3 separate regions of the Homo sapiens genome follow, and regions 1 and 3 are each linked to region 2. Evidence: promoter capture Hi-C in 16 types of primary human blood cells and fetal thymus (Javierre and others, 2016). All regions are on one chromosome and are shown on one strand. Each heading gives the region's core, a stretch centred on a gene start or on the middle of the fragment in contact. The rest is flanking DNA. Distances are from core to core; before and after follow the strand shown. Region 1 holds the start of IL11 (interleukin 11). Region 2 holds the start of TMEM86B (transmembrane protein 86B). Region 3 holds the start of MIR6805 (microRNA 6805).

Region 1 (4,387 bases), core at 89-2,588, 140 kb before region 2:
CCCAGCTACTCAGGAGGCTGAGGCATGAGAATCACTTGAACCTGGGAGGCGGAGGTTACAGTGAGCTGAGATCACACCACTGCACCCCAGCCTGGGTGACACAGCGAGACTCTGTCTCAAAAAAACCAAAAACGAGGCCAGGCACGGTAGCTCACACCTGTCATCCCAGCACTTTGGGAGGCCGAGGCAGGCGGATCACGAAGTCAGGAGTTCGAGACCAGCCTGGCCAACATGGTAAGACCCCGTCTCTACTAAAAATACAAAATTAGCCGGGTGTGGTGGCGCACACCTGTAATCCCAGCTACTTGGGAGGCTGAGGCAGGAGAATCGCTTGAACCCGGGAGGTGGAGGTTGCAGTGAGCTGAGATTGTGCCATTGATCGCGCCATTGCACTCCAGCCTGGGTGACAGAGTGAGACTCAGTACCAAAAAACAAACAAACAAAAAACAAACAAAAAATGAGAAAGGCTTTTACTCTCTGCCCCCATTGCTGAGTCCCCAACATCTCAGCGTCTCTGTCTTTCTAATATCTCTGTCTCCCCTTTTCTGTCCCTGGGGCCTCTCCGTCCCTGTCACTCTGCCCCGTGTCTCTGTTTGCCTGGTGCCTTTCTTCAGCTGCGGCATCCTCTGTCTCAGAGTCTTGGTGTCTCTGTTCCTTTCCCCTCGGGGTCTCCCTGGGTCTCCCCAAGTCCCTCCTGCTGTCTTCCTCCCGCTCTCTGATCTCTGACTCCCAGAACCTCTCCCTCTGTCTCCAGGGCTGCCCCTCTGATCCTCTTTGCTTCTCTGGTGTGTCTCTCTGGCTGCCTCCATCTCTGTGGATCTCCATCTCCCTGTCTCTGTCTCAGTCTGTCCTTCACTCTGTGTGTGTGTGTGTCTCTCTCTCTCTCCTTCCCTTCCACTCCCTCTTCCTCCTGCCTCCACCTCTCCAGGCCCCTGTCTTGTCCCTCCGTCCGGCCTTTCTCTGCCTTTCCGTCCTCCTGCCTCCCCATCTCTCTCTGCTAGTCCTGGTCCAGCCGGACCCCCACCCACAGTCGGGCCCCAGCGCTTGAGCCTGAGTGTCTGCTCCGGCCCGTGGAGGTGGAGGGAGGGGACGCCAATGACCTCACCAGCCCCTCTCCGACCACCCCCCCCTTTCCCTTTTCAACTTTTCCAACTTTTCCTTCCGTGCCCTCCTCCGAGCGCGGCGGCGTGAGCCCTGCAAGGCAGCCGCTCCGTCTGAATGGAAAAGGCAGGCAGGGAGGGTGAGTCAGGATGTGTCAGGCCGCCCTCCCCTGCCGCCTGCCCCCCGCCCGCCCGCCCCAGCCCCCTATATAACCCCCCAGGCGTCCACACTCCCTCACTGCCGCGGCCCTGCTGCTCAGGGCACATGCCTCCCCTCCCCAGGCCGCGGCCCAGCTGACCCTCGGGGCTCCCCCGGCAGCGGACAGGGAAGGGTTAAAGGCCCCCGGCTCCCTGCCCCCTGCCCTGGGGAACCCCTGGCCCTGTGGGGACATGAACTGTAAGTTGGTTCATGGGGAGGGTGGAGGGGACAGGGAGGCAGGGAGGAGAGGGACCCACGGCGGGGGTGGGAGCAGACCCCGCTGAGTCGCACAGAGAGGGACCCGGAGACAGGCAGCCGGGGAGGAGAGCAGCTTCGGAGACAGGAGGCGGCGGAGGAGATGGGCAGAGAGAGACACAGACAGGAGCGGATGGAGGCAGCCAATCAGAGGCGCCGCAGGAGGGACGGGCCAGACAGGGCCCCGAGAGGGAGCGAGACGCGGAGACCGAGCAGGGGCAGGGACGCAGGGACTGGTGCCGGGAGGGAGGTGACCCCCATCGACCCAGGCCCCAGGGAGCCCGCGGGGACCGGGAGACTCCCTGGGATTCCGGCAGAGAGGCTCCGGAGGGAAACTGAGGCAGGGTCCGCGGAGAGCGGAGCAAGCCAGGGAGTAGCGACCCCAGCCGGGGGGAGGAGAGAGACTGGGCGCGGGGGGAAAGCGGGGAGAGCCGGGCAGATGCGGCCGACGGAGGCGCGGACAGACCGACGGCTGGCGGGCCCGGGGGGCGGGCTGGGGGTGTGCGAGGCGCGGGCGGCCGGGGAGCGCTGATTGGCTGGCGGGTGGCCGGGTGGGCGGGGCGGCCGGGGTGGGCTGCGGGGAGCGAGCTCCGGACCCCCGCGCCCCCCGCGCCCCCCGCGCCCCCCGCCGCCAGCTCTCCCGCTCCCGCGGCCCGGCCGGGCCCATGGCTCTGCCCCTCTCCGCCCAGGTGCGCTGCGGCCCGGGCTTCTGCCGCCCACCCGGCGGGGCTCCTGGGAGGGCGTCTAAGGGGTCTCCCGTGGGAGAGGTCCGTGTCTCCCGGGCTCCGTCCTGGCTTCTGGCTCCTTCCCCTGCTCCCAGCCAGCTCGGGCTCCCGCGGCCCGGGGAGGGGGCAGGTTCTGGCCTGTGCCTCCCCCACCATGCCCCGCCCCGGGGCCCAGATTCCGGCGTCCGGGGGCGGACGGGAGACGCCCGGCCCGTCTACCCGCCCCGGGCCGCGTCTGCTCCGACGGGCGGGGCAGCCAGAGCCAGGGAGGGAGAGGGAAGCCCGCCTGGCCCTGCGACCTGCCCGCGGGCGTTCCACCCTGGGACTTAAGACCTCCAGCTCCATCCTCCCTAAGGCCGGGAGTCCAGGCCCCAGACCCTCCTCCCCGAGACCCAGGAGTCCAGACCCCAGGCCTTCCTCCCTCAGACCTAGGAGTCCAGGCCCCCAGCCTCTCCTCCCTCAGACCCAGGAGGAGTCCAGACCCCAGTTCCTCCTCCCTCAGACCCGGGAGTCCAGGCCCAGGCCCTCCTCTCTCAGACCCGGAGTCCAGCCTGAGCTCTCTGCCTTATCCTGCCCCCAGGTGTTTGCCGCCTGGTCCTGGTCGTGCTGAGCCTGTGGCCAGATACAGCTGTCGCCCCTGGGCCACCACCTGGCCCCCCTCGAGTTTCCCCAGACCCTCGGGCCGAGCTGGACAGCACCGTGCTCCTGACCCGCTCTCTCCTGGCGGACACGCGGCAGCTGGCTGCACAGCTGGTAGGAGAGACTGGGCTGGGGCCAGCACAGGAGTGAGAGGCAGAGAGGAACGGAGAGGAGTCTGCGGGCAGCCACTTGGAGGGGTTCTGGGCTCTCAGGTGGCAGAGTGAGGGAGGGGAAGAGTTGGGGGCCTGGCGTGGGGGATGGAGGGAGCCCCGAGGCTGGGCAGGGGCCACCTCACAGCTTTTTTCCCTGCCAGAGGGACAAATTCCCAGCTGACGGGGACCACAACCTGGATTCCCTGCCCACCCTGGCCATGAGTGCGGGGGCACTGGGAGCTCTACAGGTAAGGGCAAGGGAGTGGGCTGGGGACAAGGTGGGAGGCAGGCAGTGAAGGGGGCGGGGAGGATGAGGGGCACTGGTCGGGTGTTCTCTGATGTCCCGGCTCTATCCCCAGCTCCCAGGTGTGCTGACAAGGCTGCGAGCGGACCTACTGTCCTACCTGCGGCACGTGCAGTGGCTGCGCCGGGCAGGTGGCTCTTCCCTGAAGACCCTGGAGCCCGAGCTGGGCACCCTGCAGGCCCGACTGGACCGGCTGCTGCGCCGGCTGCAGCTCCTGGTATGTCCTGGCCCCAAGACCTGACACCCCAGACCCCCACCCCTGGCCCCAAAATCCTGTGGCCTGAGTCCTTGAAGCCTGAGACCCCAGACCCGAGTGCAACAGCCCCGCTCTGAGACCCTGACACCCTAACAGCCCGCTCTGAGACCCTGACACCGTAACAGCCCCGCTCTGAGACCCTGACCCTAACAGTCCTGCTCTGAGACCCTGACCCTGCAGTCCCAAGATCCTGTGGCCCTGAGACCCTGAGGCCCTAGACCCCCAAATCCTGCCCAGAAACTTCAAATTCTCACCCAAGACCCTGAGACTCCATCATCCATGACCTCAAAGTCCCCAGATCCCAGCCCCTAAGACCCAAGACCCCATCCTGAAGCCCAAAGCCTTGAGAATTCAAATCCTCACCTCAAGACTTGGAGACCCTGGCCCCATGACATTGAAAACCATGGACCTGGCCAGGCGTGGTGGCTCACGCCTGTAATCCCAGCACTTTGGGAGGCCGAGGCAAGTGGATCACCTGAGGTCGGGAGTTCAAGACCAGCCAGACCAACATGGTGAAACCCTGTCTCTACTAAAAATACAAAATTAGCCAGGCGTGGTGGTGCATGCCTGTAATCCCAGCTACTTGGGAGGCTGAGGCAGGAGAATCGCTTGAACCTGGGAGGCGGAGGTTGCAGTGAGCCGAGATCGCACCATTACACTCCAGCCTGGGCAACAAGAGCAAAACTCCCTCTCTCTCAAAAAAAAAAAAAAAAAAAAAAAGAAGGAAAAGAAAACCATGGACCTCCAGACCCTGAGA
Region 2 (4,204 bases), core at 1-2,500:
GTGGGGGCCGTGCCTTTGCCCAGACCCTGCACTTTCAACCAGGCCAGTCCGGCTCTGGGGAGCAGGGGCCTCCCCGGCAACAGCCCCAGGGGCCTTGAGGGTCTGAGGTCCCAGCCCTGTTGCCAAGTGACCTTGTCCCCAGCTCCCTCCTCCCAGGCTGGTGTGAGTGTGCGTGCGTTTGTGCCGAGCTTCTATTTCATATTGCAAATATAAATAAAGGAAGGCAGTTTACGATTCTGCTGGTCAGACCTTACGTTCTGGGATGCGGGGTGGGGAGCCTGTATTATCCCTGCACCCCAGAGGCTGGGGGTGCTCCTGACCCAGTCTGCCCCCACACTGTCCTGCCAGAGGGAGCCCTGTGGCTGCAGAGGCCCCAGGCTGGGCCAGGCACTGGCTGTGAGGGCTCCTGCCAGGTCTACCCCACCTGTGGGCAGGGCCTTGGGCAGAGGATAGAAGCCACCGACAGGCTCAAATCCCTGCTCCTGCCCCTGCTTACCCCCAGTAACCAAGCCCAGCATTGAGGCTGGGTACTGGCGCCCAGTAGGTCTGAGTCTTTCAGGTAGAAGGTAGAAGTGTAGGCTGCGTGTGCAGCGAGTGGCACCGGTGAGCGGCGCTGGGAAACCGGAGCGTGTGGACCGGGCCATGAGGACAGCGTCCTCACTGGGGTGGCAGTTGGCTTGGAGGTCACCTGGGGGCTCGCTCAGCTAACAGGAGAGGGTGCTTGTTCCCCGCATTCGTGGTGGTCCCTCCTGGTCACCCATTGAAGCAGTGTTTGTGGTGGAGCCCCTGAGGGCTTGGTGGGGTTGAGCAGAATGAGGAAAGGTTTCATGGAGCAGGGAGGGAGACGGCTAGGGCAGCAAGTGAAGGACAGACTCGCCTTCCCATCCCTCCAGGGGCACTCCTGCCAGCCAGCCCCTCTCCCGCTTCCCATGATGGGGTGGCTGTTGGAATTCTGCACCCCATCTCTTCTGATTGTTGGGGCCCAGGACAAGGGGACAGGCATTTGTGGGCCTAACCTCCCCAGGCAGATAGGAGGAGGAAGCCATGTCCCAGCAGGCTAGGGCAGAGGGACCCCCAGTGCCAACAGTGCTTTATCAGCGGGCGCCAGGCAGGGCCATCCCCAGGGTGAGGACAACATCTCCCTGGGCCCTGTTATCAGTCACAGAGTCCACAGGACGCTCCTTGGGTTAACGTGTAACCATGAGCCCTCCCCTCCACCCCCTGAAGCCACTCGCTCCCAGATTAGGTCGCTCTGGGGCTATCAGGCCAGCATGGACGCTGGCAAAGCGGGGCAGACCCTGAAGACTCACTGCTCAGCCCAGGTGAGAGCCTTCTGAGCTGTGCCTGGGGCTGGGGGGACAGGGCCCTGGAACCCCAGCAGCCGGCGGGTCTGGGAGCTGCTGTCCTTGAGTTGGTTGGGCCCTGGGAAGCTGGGTTCTGGCAGCCTGGTCCCTGAATGGGTCCAGCCTGTACAGCTGGGGTCCCAGGTGGGGGTGGGACAGGAGCCATGAGATCTGAGTCCCAAGAATGGGGGCTGGGCTGGGTTTCGGCTCAGTAGCTCCCCACTCCCCAAAGCGCCCAGATGTCTGCAGGTGGCTGAGCCCCTTCATCCTCTCCTGCTGCGTGTACTTCTGCCTCTGGATTCCCGAGGACCAGCTGTCCTGGTTCGCTGCCCTGGTCAAGTGCCTGCCCGTCCTCTGCCTGGCTGGGTTCCTGTGGGTCATGTCCCCAAGCGGGGGCTACACCCAGCTCCTCCAGGGAGCCCTTGTGTGCTCGGCTGTGGGGGACGCTTGCCTCATCTGGCCGGCAGCCTTCGTCCCTGGTGAGTGGAAGGTGCTGTGACGCTTTCCAGATGCCCGTGTGAGAGAGGCCCCAGCACTTGGATGGGAGCCTGGGTGCAGAGGGCTCCTGTGAGAGCTCCAGTGGTCAAAGGCACAGTGGGGGGCGCAGCCGTGACCGAGGCAGCTCACGCTCCAGCGAGGGGTGGGGGCAGGCGGTGTTAGGGCAGTAGCTGAGGTGGCGCAGAGGGCAGTGAGGACCTGCTGGAGGTACTGCAGTTTGAAGCAGGGTTGCTGAGGAAGGCCTCACTGAGGAAGTCACATTTGGGCAGAGCTGAAGGGCTGTATGCCTGTGTGGAGGAAGGGCGAGTGTAAAGGCTCCGGGGCAGGGACGTGTCAGGTGCTTGTAGCCCAGCAGGCCAGGGTGGCTGGCGCAGAGTGGCTGGAGAGCTGGAGGCCATGGGGCTTTGGAGGCCAAGGGAAGGTGGGGCCTCCTGGCAGTTCTGAGCAGAGCAAGGATGGACACTGCATGTGGGGAGACCTGCAAGGAGGCTCGGCCAGGGTGGGGCCTGGTGCTCTGGGATGGTCCTTCTCTTAGGCCCTGAGGGGTGACCTCGGGGCCATTCCCAGGATGGGCCTTCCTCACTGGTACCCCACCCCTCTCCCGCCAGGCATGGCCGCCTTTGCCACCGCCCACCTCCTCTACGTCTGGGCCTTCGGCTTCTCTCCCCTGCAGCCCGGCCTGCTGCTGCTCATCATCCTGGCCCCTGGCCCCTACCTCAGCCTTGTGCTCCAGCACCTCGAGCCGGATATGGTCCTGCCGGTGGCAGCCTATGGGCTGATCCTGATGGCCATGCTGTGGCGCGGCCTGGCCCAGGGCGGGAGTGCCGGCTGGGGCGCGCTGCTCTTCACGCTCTCTGATGGCGTGCTGGCCTGGGACACCTTCGCCCAGCCCCTGCCCCATGCCCACCTGGTGATCATGACCACCTACTATGCTGCCCAGCTCCTCATCACACTGTCAGCCCTCAGGAGCCCGGTGCCCAAGACTGACTGACTAGGGAGCTTGAAGGGCCGGTGTTCAGGCCCTCTCCTCCTGCAAGGACCTGGGCCTCCCAGCCCAGCCCAGCCTGAGAAATACCCTCAGCAGCGAAGCTTCCTGACGCCTGTCTGCAGGCGCCGCTGCCGCCGTCGCTTCTGGCTGAAGACGTTTGAGGACGATTTGCGGAATTCCAAGTCCACTACTGGGTTCCAGCTGCCTTCCCCCGGTTCTGACTCCAGATCCCTGGCTCCTCAGCCAGGCCCACATGGAGCCCTCCCAGCCACCAGCCTGCCTCCATGTTCACTGTCGGCCCCACAGCCTGCCCGCCCCCTGCTGCTGCTCTGAATCCGTTTTCCCTGTGGGTGTGGAACCGTAGATGTTGCTGTTACCGTAGGAGAGGCCTCGGGGAGGGTCATGATTGTGATAAACCATCGCGGTTAATGACAGCAGAAGGTTCTTTGTCGCTCCCCATGGACCAGGCCTGGTGCCCAGTGGGACCCTCCATGGCCCTCTGGTGGGGGGATTCGGGGGGATAAAGTGAGGATTGTGCAGAACTGAGCCAAGAGGACTGTTTGGTCTTTGTGTTAGTTTCCTGAGGCTGCTGTCACAAATTACCCCAAGCCAGATGCTTTGAAACAAGATGAATGGACTCTCCTGCAGTTCTGGAGACCCAAAGTCCAAAATCCGGGTGTTTTCCGGCCCATGGTCCCTCTTGAGGCTCCAGGGAAGAATCCGTCCTTGCCCTCTCGGCTTCTGGAGGCTCCCGGGAATCCCTGGCTTCCATCGGCCTGTGGCTGTGTCTCTCCGTCTTCATGTGACTGTCTTCAACTGGCAGCCTCCCTCTGTGTCCGCATCCTTCTAGGGACACAGGTCATTGGATTTAGGGCCCACCCTAAACCCAGGGTGATTCTATCTCAAGATCCTTAAGTATGTCTGCAAAGCCCCTATTTCCAAGTAGTGTCACCTGCAGAGGTATCTGGGGTTAGGACTTGGACATATCTTTCTAGGGGATACAACCCGCTGCAGTCACATGCAGTATCGGGAGAAGGGTGGGAGGCTTGAGGATGAGGGGTCTTGGAGGAGGGAGGGCGGCAAGGGGGTAGGAATCAAATGGGAAGGAGGAACCCAGCTGTGCTCCTTGTCAAGGCTGTGTGACCTCGGCAAGCTGCTATCCCTCAGGTCCTCAGATTCTGCATCTGAAGACTTGACAGGGTCCAAGCTGCTCTCCAAGACCCTATTTGACTTCTGCATCCATGATGTGCTTTCAGTGACTCATAGCAGAGGGGCGACTTCTCCATCCATGGTTAGCATTTAGAGACTCTTACAGCAGAGAGGCGACCTCTCTATCCATGACCTGCATTTAGGGACTCTTAGAGCAGAGGTGACT
Region 3 (4,402 bases), core at 1,652-4,151, 160 kb before region 2:
GGGGAGGTTCTTTCAGCACTCTGGATGTGTCCCCACTGCCTGGGCCTGGTTTCTGATGAGGGCAGCTACTAACTTTATCAGGGACCTTCTGTATGTGACAAGACGCTTTTCTTTTGTTCTCCCAATTTTGTCTTTGGCTTTCAGCATTTTTACTATGGTGAGCCTGCCTGTTTTCTTAATATCATGTTTTTGGTTTAACTGGTTTTCCAATTTCCAGGCCAACAGACATGATTTGTGTGAATAAAGCTGGAATAGATGGCCCCATCCAACATCTCTCTCTCCAAGATGAGGTCTAGAGGAGGGAAATGGTGTCTCCACGTTTGCTCAGCACACTGAGGACTCCAAACTCTGTGGGGCTGAGACCATCTCCCTCCCTCCAGCCCTCTCCTGGTTCCTCCACCCCAACCCACCGATAGCATTCAGATACCAGACGTGGCCTCCCCAGCCCAGCCACACAGACAGGCTGGCCACCCGCAGGAACAGAGGCCCACTAAGCTGGGCTGTGTTACGGATGAGACCAGGGGAGGCCACACAGCAGGGAGGATTCAGATAGGGATGGAGAAAGCCAGCAGGACTCCACAGGGGGTGGGGCCTAGAGGCACAAGCCTCCAGGGCAGGCAAGGAGGTGGTTAAGGACAAGGCCTTCTGAGCAGCAGCAGCCACATCAGAAAGCCTCGAGCGCCTGTAATGCCAGCACTTTGGGAGGCTGAGGCAGGTGGGTAATTTGAAGTCAGGAGTTCCAAACCAGCCTGGGCAAAATGGTGAAACCCCATCTCTGCTAAAAATACAATACTGAGCTGGGTGTGGTGACACCCACCTGTAATCCCAGCTACTCGGGAGGCTGAGGCAGGAGAATCGCTTGAACCCAGGAGGTGGAGGCTGCAGTGAGCCAAGATCGCGCCATTGCACTCGCCAGCCTGGGCAACAGAGCGAGACTCCATCTCCAGAAAGTCTCCAGTGAGCAAACTCTCAGGACCGGTGGGCTTTATACATTCAATATGCACCATTCATCAAGCATCTCATTATATGCTGGTGTGCTAGACAAACCCCTTGCCCACCAGCACAAGACAAACATGAGACAGATAAACCTGCCAGCTTGTGGGCTGCAAATCAGTGCTGTGGAGGACAACTGAAGCAGGTGCCAGGGGAGAGGCCTCACGAGAAGGGGCCATCTACTAACGTGAGCAGTGAGCTCTCCTTATGAAGGCGGAGTCCCAGCGCAGTGAGGCCAGCCAGAGATGGGCCTGAGTGGGACTGGGACAGTGGGGGCTCCTGAGCAGGTACGAAGTCACCAGCGGAGTGAGGCCAGCTGGAGGTGGGCCTGAGTGGGATTGGGACAGTGCGGGGGGTCCTGAGCAGGTACCAAGTCACCCAACTCAGTTTTAAGGCAACACCTCTCAATCTGAGCTAATAGACCCAACTAAGGGAAGGACAAAGGAAATGGTAATTCACAGCAGACAGGGGCTGGCAAGTGGTCAGATCTGCTCTCCTTCGAGCTGGGCAAGACTGGAGCAGACAGGACTGAGGTCGGAAGGGCAGTGGTCTGCCTCAAAACGCAGGGCTCCCAGCCCCGTACGACCCCAACCAATGGCAAGTCGAGGCCCTGACAGTCCCCTTACTCTCAGTCAGAGCCGGGGGTGGTCTCAGACAGGGAGCAGAGTCCTTCTTTGAATCGGGTACCCCAGGATGGCAGGAACCAGGGGTGCCATGGATGCTGGATCCTTGGTCCCTGGCAGTGGCTGACAGAGTTAGGTGCCCAGGAAACATGTGAGGATCAACAGCAGGACTCTTTCCCCATCCAGGCCTCACTGTGTGTCATGGTGTCTTCCAGGCTGGAGTGTAGTGGTGGGGCTCATGGGCTCACTGCAGCCTCATACTCTTGGCTCAAGTGCTCCGCTCACCTCAGCCTCTACTCAACCTCTGAGGAGCTGGGACCACAGGCGGTGCACCACCACACCCAGCTAATTTTATTTTAGAGACGGTGTCTCATTATGTTGCCTAGGATGGTCTCAAACTCCTGGCCTCACAAGCTGTAATAAACACTAGGGAGCAAACAGGCCAAAGGAAACAAGAGGGCTGGGCAATCAGGAAAGCTTGGGTGACAGGGTGGCCCAGGAGCGGCCACTGAGATGAGACCTAAGTGACAAGAGCCAGCTCAAAGAGACAGGGGAGGGATGGGGACACCTGGAGGACGGGAGTAGGGGGACAATGCTAAGGCTGCTCAATGCCTGCTGGCTGTACCCTGGGGCTGCCATCTCCCTTACAGTTATAAGCCACCACCCACCAAGTTGCCCATCTCAGAGATGAGGTTGCATCAAGTAAAGCCCATCCCCTCCAAATGTGGCTGCACCCACTCCCTGGATGCAAAAGTCATCTCATCTTCCTCCCGTGATGTCTGTCGTCCCCCAGGTCTTGGGAACACCCCAAGTCCCCAAACCGTGCTACAGCACCAGGGCCCAGGGCCCAGCCCTCAGCCTGCACCCTTCTGGGCTAGAAAAGGCCTTTCTTCTTCTGAATGGAAGCCACTGCCCCAGCTGGGATTCTTCAGGCCACCTCACAATGGGACAGTAGGTCTCAATCACAAGTCAGCAAACTTTTTCTGTGAAGACAGTGACCCTTGCCCTCACCAGGGACAAGGCAGCTACCCCACCCCTCCTGCATGGCCAGCCATTGACATCACCTCCAGATGGACAAGGTGACATGCAGAGTTTTGATGACATGGCCTGAATGACAACACACAGGGCCAGAGCTCCCCAGAGCGTTTCAAAAAGGGAGGCCCAGTCGAGGCAGGTGAGAAAGCCAGCTGACTTTATTGCTCTGGGGGCAGGGGGCTCAGGAGCTCTTGGTGGGGCGGGTCCGCTTCCTCTTCACCATCACAGGCTTCTGGCTGCGCAGGATGGCGCTGGCCCTGCGGATGGCTGCCTGGGGGCGGGGGAGCAGAGCAAGGCTCAGCCCATACACTCCACAAGCCGCCCCCTAGGCCAATGCTGGGTGTGGGGAGTAGGCTGAAAGCAAGAATCCATCCCTCTCCAGCCCATATTGCAACCAGTAGTGGGAGGCCCTTCCCCACAGCACTGGCCAGTCTCCCCAAGCCTGATCCCCAAACCCCAGCTCACCATGCGCAGGTCGGGGCGGTACTTGTTCTTGCGGATCATGTGTCTGATGCTGCTGAGCGTGGCGCGAGCATTCTTGTTGATGGTGGTCCGCACATAGGAGGTGGCAGGCTTCCGCTGGCCTGGTTGGGGGTCAGGGAGGTCCTGGGGTCAGTCCACCTAACCTGCACCTTTAGCACACCTCGCAGGTGTGGACAGTCTCACATTGAGAAGCTGAGCAGCGTGGGCCCGTGGCGGGTGCCTGGGCAGGCCAGCAGGTAGCTGTTTTCCCACCTGTCCATTTCACAGAGGCTCACTCGTCATCACGGAGTACTGAGGACACAGCTTCTGCCACACTCATAGCCCAATTCTGTCCACCATGAAAACACTCCTTTCTCATGCCAGAAAGCTGCCGCTTCAGTTAGGATCTGATCCAGGTCCAGCCAGAGCCCACGCTCCTGGCAATGGGTATGAACAGCTTCCCAGGAACCCCAGGCCCATCCCCACAGCAGTGGTTCAACATCAGCTTGGCTGAGAGGCCCAGCCTCACTCAGGCCAGTCCCTTAGTCTAGGAAGGGCCACCCATGTATTCGGCAATCCAAGAGGTGAAAGCTTTCAGGACTCCCCAGAACGGGGTCCCCAAGTGCCAAGCAATTGGCTGCTCCCTGGACTACGTGTCCCTGAGACAGGAGGATCACTAGCCAACAGACTGCGTTTGTTGCTGCCACTGAGTAAAAGGACCCTTGGCTCTGAGGCAGTTCCAATCAAGGACCTGAGAAAAACTCACTCTAAAAAGAAAATACAGCCCTGTCAAGAACACATGTGAAGCTGGACTCCTCCATTAGAGACCCCCGACTCACACGAACATTCAGGGAATCCCCAAAAAGGCCTGCACCTGACAGCACAATGTATGGAGTGGGGTCCCCAAGACCTCTTCTCTAACCTACACAGGCAAAATGGGAATCAAATGGCTGCAACCAACCCAGCCTGTCCCCTCCTAAGTGTGGTAGCGAGGGCCCCTCCCCTGTTGTGCCTCAATCTTCCCACCTGTGGGATGAAACCATCCATCCCCACCCTGACTTGCTTTGAGAATTTCATCTGAAAACATCAACCCCGTGCCTTAACTCTCAACAACCACCGAGGAAGTTCAGGTCCTTTTTCATTTCTCCACTTTACAGGTGAGGACACGGGCTCAGACGCGCGCGGCTCACAGAGCTGACAAGTCGGCCGAGAGGGAAGCCGGTACCCAGACCAACACCCTGGCGCCAGGGATGCCCGCCGCGATGGCAGTTACCGCTCTTCCTGCCTGA

What was found. Contacts are between HindIII fragments. The CHiCAGO score rates a contact against its expected background, and 5 or more counts as called.
Region 1: a contact is called between the fragment with the promoter of IL11 here and the fragment with the promoter of TMEM86B in region 2, in 14 of 17 cell types (naive CD4 T cells, M1 macrophages, activated CD4 T cells and 11 more). The highest score is 11.1, in naive CD4 T cells.
Region 3: a contact is called between a fragment that was not itself captured here and the fragment with the promoter of TMEM86B in region 2, in 8 of 17 cell types (megakaryocytes, erythroblasts, M1 macrophages and 5 more). The highest score is 13.1, in megakaryocytes.

What each region holds. Positions count from the first base shown.
Region 1 is chr19:55,367,414-55,371,800 of GRCh38, reverse strand. IL11 (interleukin 11) reads left to right here and starts at 1,338. Exons shown (of 5, transcript NM_000641.4): 1 at 1,338-1,497; 2 at 2,860-3,032; 3 at 3,232-3,318; 4 at 3,430-3,591. The coding sequence starts at 1,491. RefSeq lists enhancers at 558-1,398, 2,242-3,083 and a silencer at 2,396-2,575. The HindIII fragment of the contact is 16,746 bases long and covers 1-4,387 here.
Region 2 is chr19:55,225,809-55,230,012 of GRCh38, reverse strand. It overlaps TMEM86B (transmembrane protein 86B), which reads left to right and starts at 1,250. Exons shown (of 3, transcript NM_173804.5): 1 at 1,250-1,322; 2 at 1,576-1,822; 3 at 2,450-3,375. The coding sequence starts at 1,272. The coding sequence ends at 2,832. It overlaps PPP6R1 (protein phosphatase 6 regulatory subunit 1), which reads left to right. Exons shown (of 24, transcript NM_014931.4): 24 at 1-234. The HindIII fragment of the contact is 5,765 bases long and covers 1-2,932 here.
Region 3 is chr19:55,386,763-55,391,164 of GRCh38, reverse strand. RPL28 (ribosomal protein L28) reads right to left here. Exons shown (of 5, transcript NM_000991.5): 4 at 3,117-3,235; 5 at 1-2,922. The coding sequence ends at 2,833. It overlaps MIR6805 (microRNA 6805), which reads right to left and starts at 2,984; the gene lies at 2,923-2,984. The HindIII fragment of the contact is 1,611 bases long and covers 2,096-3,706 here.